Regions from separate parts of the Homo sapiens genome. Here region 1 is linked to region 2. Evidence: promoter capture Hi-C in human tissues and cell types (Jung and others, 2019). All regions are on one chromosome and are shown on one strand. Each heading gives the region's core, a stretch centred on a gene start or on the middle of the fragment in contact. The rest is flanking DNA. Distances are from core to core; before and after follow the strand shown.

Region 1 (2,700 bases), core at 85-2,584, 48 kb before region 2:
TTTGCCAACTTGATTTATCATAAGGGAATTGAGAAAATGCATTATAATTCTCCAATATTTTGAATAGGAAACATGGTCAGAAATTTTTATCTTGCAAACTCAAATGCAGATACTTTTTAAGGGTGTGTAAATATATATATGATATATATACAATAATTATACAAATTATACAATAATTTGTATTATTATACAATAATTTGTATAAATTTAAGAGATACAAGTGCAGTTTTGTTTCATGTATATATTGCACAGTGATGAGGTCTGGTTTTTTCCATGTAATCATCACCTGAATAATTGTACCTATTAAGTAATTTTTCATCCCTCACCCCATCCAATCTTCCCACTTTTCTAGTCTCTGAAGTCTATTATTTCACACTATCTATCCATATGTATACATGATTTAGCTCCCACTTATAAGTGAGGATATATGATATTTGAACTCTAAAAGCATATTTTATTTCTGCACCAACTTTTTCCTCACTCCATCCCACTCATGCATTTTTTCAAATAAATATTTTTATTGATACACAGATAGAAAAAGTACACAAATCATAAGTGTGAAGCTCAGCGAATTTTTACACAAGGAACACACCTGTATCACCACCGTTCAGATAAGGAATAAAATATCACTAACACCACAGAAGCCCTCCCTTGCCCCTCTCTCAGTCCCTAACCCTAACTTCCTCTCCAAAGATAACACTATCCTGACTTGTAACACCCAATTTTCATATTAATATAATGAATGACATCATATGTACCTGTACCCTTTTGTGTCTGACATTCATTCAACGTTGTAAGAGTTATTCATGTTATTGTATATACAATGGTTTATTCATTTTCATTGCTGTGAGGAATTCCATTGTGTGAATATACTAGACCTTATCCATACTGTTGATAGACAACTAGGTTGTTACCAGTTTTTAACTATTATGAGTAATGCTGCTATAAACTTTTATACATACATAGGTATATGTGTGTATGTATATATACATATGAGTATGTACCTATTTATGATATATCATGTATATAATCTGCAAGTATGTACATGATAGAAGATATATATCTTTTGGTGCATATATGTATATATCTTTTGGTACACATGTGTATGCATTTCTGTTGGACTGGTATTGCTAAGTAACAGGGATATGTACATGTCCAGTTTTAGTATTAGTAGATACAAATGGTTTTCCAAAGTAGTTGTTCCAGTTTACAATCCCGTCAGCAGTGTATGAAAATTCCAGTTGCTCCCCAGTTTAATCCACACTGGGATTAAGACAGCTTCCCAGTCTTTTACATTTTAATCTTTCTGGTGAATGTATAATGTTACTTCACAGTTTTAAATTTTTATTTCCTTAGTGATTAATGATGTTGAGCACTTTCTCATATACTTACTGTCAAAAGAGATTATTTTGCCTATTTTTCTATTTGAGTTGGCTTTTTTCTTACTGATTTGTAGACATTGTTTATATATTTTTGAATACAAGCACTTTGTTGCATATATATATACATATATATATATATATATATATATATATAGCAAATATCTTTCTTATGGCTTAGCATCTTACTGTGTTTGGGATGTGGTTTGATAAACAACTTGTATTCTTCTTTATCAATCTCTTCCTTTATGCTTACTGCTCTTTTGTGTCACTTTTTAGAAATTTCGACAACCCAAGGTCATGAATACATTCTTTCTTATAAGCTTTAATGTTCTATCTTCCTATATAAGCCTATAGTCCTCCTAAGATTGACTTTTGTTTTCAGCGTGGTTTCTCAACCTTAGCACTATTGACATTTTGGACAGGCCAAGTCTTCATTGTGTAGAGACTCTCCTGTGCCTTGTAGGACATTTAGCAGCATCGCTTGCCTGTACCCACTAAGTACCATAGCATGTCCCATCCTAAGTCATGACAATCAGTGATGTCTCCAGTCATTGCTGGATGTCCAAGGGAGCAGGAAGGCCAAAACTGTCCCTGTTAAGAACCACTGACTTATGCTATTAAGTGGGAACCATGGTGATATTCAATTGACTTGCCACTACTACTAGAATGGTATTCTCCACGCTCTGCCTTGTCACCAGTATCACAAATCAGAAGACCATATATGTTCAAGAGACTAAAATGTTCTTTCTGGACTCTTTATTCCATCGGTTTCAAAACCAATACTCATGTCAATATGACACTGTTTTATTATAAAGCTATGGTAATCAAGACTTGATATCTAGCCGTACATATATTCCAATTTTGATCTCCACAGTTTCTTTTACTATTCCTGCATCTTTGCCTTTTCATCTTAGAATGAGCTTGTCAATTTCCATTAAAAAAAAAAAACTACTGGAATGTTCACTGGGATTACATTAAATCTATAAATCAACTTGGTAAAATTGACATTTTGGAAATATTGAGACTTCTAATTCTGGACCATAATATATCCACCCCCTTTAATTAATTCTTTAATTTCTCTCAACAGTGTTTTATGGTTTTTGGTGTAGATTTTCTACACATCCTCCCTTAGATTTATTTCAAGGTATTTGACTATGTAGATACTATTACAAATAAATTTTCTTTAAATTTTTTAACACCTTCTAATATATAGGAATATATCTCATTTTTTACATTGAGTTTGTGCTAGTTACATAGTTAAATTTATTTATTTATTCTGACACTTTATATTTGAATTTTTGAACATTTTCTGCACACT
Region 2 (2,700 bases), core at 55-2,554:
ATACCTTCCTTTTTCTGCTTCTTTTTTTTCTTTCTTTCTTGGACACCTCCAACCCCCATTGACAACCGAAATGCAGGGCTATAAACATAAGGGTGCAATACATCATGAGATAAGTCTGGAGAACATGTCCTCTACCAAAATGCACATGAATCTCTGGTACAGCTAAAATTCCAGAAACATGCTGGGGTTCCTTTTGCATGCTAAGCAGGGTCAAAAATGTGAGCACTATGTGGTTGCCCTTATATATCAGATGAGCTCTAAAGTTGAAAGGTTACATTTGTGAAATTGCGGCTGGGTTTCCTAGCACTTGATTCTAGCTCCTGCAAATCAAAGACTCCTAATTGAAATACAAATCCAACAATATGATAATCTTTCAGTAAAAAAAAAAAAAAAAAAAAAACGTGACTTCTGCACCCTTATCTGTTGAAGAGCTGACAGAGAAGTTCAGAGGCAGTTGTTTAACCAGACAAAATGATAGAGAAAATATGTTTTCAAATAAGATCATAAACCTTGAACAGTGCCTTGTGGGAAGCAAATGTAAAGCAAAGGGCTGTCCTCTATTCTGTCTACCAGCTCTACTCCCCCACCCCGGTGTGTATCCTCAGCCACTCACCTTTTAGGCAAGGGCTAGTGTCTTTCAGGACAGACCCAAACCCCAAATACCAAAACAGAATAAAGTAGTGTCTTAGCATACTTTGAGATCAGACTGTTTCTGCATTTCACAGTGCTGGGGGTGGGGGGGAGGTGTGGGGGGAAGGGAAAAGCAGCATACCAATGTAGTGAAATCTGGAAACAACAGCATATATACAGACACAAAAAAAGTTTGCATATTGCACAGAGCACTTGAAGATCATAAATCTATGCATGAGAAAGATGTAGTGGAAATTTTGGGGGGGATTAGAGTTTATTTTTGTCATCTCTGTGAGACAGCTACTCATTCATCCAGATCACAGCTAAGAAAAAAGCTGGTCACAGAAATTAGCAGTTTCAGCTCAGCAGCGAAGTCGCCAGCCTGTGAAGGCAGAGAGAAATTGACTAATTAGCAATGCGCACTAAAACTTGACGGTTCTTTATAGAGAGAGAGAAGAGAGAGGGAGAGAGAGGGAGAGGGAGGGAGGGGGGGCTCGCTTTTTCCCCTTCTTTCTTCCAAAGATGTTTGAAATCGCAGTCATTTACGCTCGACAATTTTTACAATAGCCTTGAGCCATAATTTTGCGAGTCTCTCCAGCATCCATCCCCCTGTATGGTCTCTCTCTACTGGCCAAGCACGACCGTTTCTCTCCCCAACCGTGGATTTCCTATTACTCTCGTTACGACTCACTGAGCCCCAGGCCCAAGGATAATGATGTGTTGTTTCTTGGTAGCATAATTTGTCACACGTACATTTTTTCTTCTTCTTCTCTTGCAGAAAGCTCTGCTCCCTCTCTCTCTCCCTCTCTCTTTCTCTCTTTTCTCCCTCTCCTACATTTTCTTGCTGTTGCTAATTCATGGTGATCAAATGATGTACGACAAAATAAATTGTAAAGAGTGACTGCCTGGAGTTGGGAACCAGAAGGTGTTTTCCCCCTCCCAAGGAGACAGCAAACCTTTAAAAAGGAAGGACAATTGATTTTTGGGGGGAGCTTAAGTGAGCCTTGACTTTGCAGCTGGTTGAGAACAGGTAAGTTTCTGGCCTTGTGTCTGCCTTGTGTGTATTTTGTTCTGTCTTTTGGATTGTTGGAGGGGGAAGGGCCGGGGAGGGAGTCTTTCAGAGGGGTTGGCGGGGGGGTAGTTGTATGGCAAACGCTCATAAAGAAAAAACTCCTATTGCAAGAAATAAGCAGATGAGGAGGAAAGGCAAGGGAGAAGAACAAGAAGGAAGGGGAATAGGAAAAGATGGGGCGGGGGGAGACAACGAAGCGGAGAGAGCTAGAGAGAGGTATGACCGGGTCCTCTTAAAGGGAGAGAGACTCTGTAAGATGTTTCAGGCAAGCCAGAGCTTTGGGGGCGGGCGTGGGGGTGCTGCCGGCGGAGGGAGCGCGAGGGAGGGTAGGGTCCACCTGGAACGGGATGGTAAAGTGAGTCGAAAGGAGCCCAGTCCGGTATAAATAGGAAGCCGGCGATCCAGGACCGGCGCCAGGCAGGGCAGAGTGAGCCGCAGTGGAAGGGGCAGGTCCGCCGGGATCCCTCCGAGCCGGGCGGCGGCGGCGGCTCTCCCCCGGGCGGGCGGGCCGGCGGGCCGGCGGGCCGGCGCGCGGGCGGGATGCAAGCAGAGGGTCCCTTTCTGCTCAGCCCTGGAAGGTGCAATTACAGGTTAAGGACCTGGCGTATCGATTTCGCCTCGCCTCCCCCACCCTGCCCTCCTCTGCCTAGATGCGGGCGGCTCAGACTTTTTACAGAAGTAGTTCCAGGGCCGGGGAAGTGGGGGTGCCCGAGTGGGGGGCCGCTGGGGGCTCTACCGAGGGGGTCAGAAGGGAGCTGCGGCTGCAGGCGACGATGCTGGGTGGGGCGCAGAGACCCCGCACCCCACTGCTCCCCCGCCCCCCCGCTCGTTCGACAGCCCCCACCCCTCCCCCAACACCTGCCTTCTAACTTGAACTTCTCATAGTTACTGGAGTTAAAGCGACTGCGCCTGGTGCCCGGGAGGGGAAACCGTGCACACGAATCCCTCCCGGCCTCCAGGCCTCCCGGCTCCCTCTCCAAACGCGTCCTCGCAGCCCC

The links. Contacts are between HindIII fragments. The study calls those that stand out against the background at their distance.
Region 1: a fragment that was not itself captured here is called in contact with the fragment with the promoter of KLHL14 in region 2 in 1 of the 25 tissues and cell types used here (lymphoblastoid cells).

What each region holds. Positions count from the first base shown.
Region 1 is chr18:32,819,164-32,821,863 of GRCh38, reverse strand. No RefSeq gene overlaps it. Among named protein-coding and RNA genes, the nearest start is that of KLHL14, 47 kb to the right of the region's middle. The HindIII fragment of the contact is 5,004 bases long and covers 1-2,700 here.
Region 2 is chr18:32,771,627-32,774,326 of GRCh38, reverse strand. KLHL14 (kelch like family member 14) reads left to right here and starts at 1,304. Exons shown (of 9, transcript NM_020805.3): 1 at 1,304-1,660. It overlaps LOC105372055 (a long non-coding RNA gene), which reads right to left. Exons shown (of 2, transcript XR_935342.4): 1 at 2,040-2,700; 2 at 886-1,012. The HindIII fragment of the contact is 6,474 bases long and covers 483-2,700 here.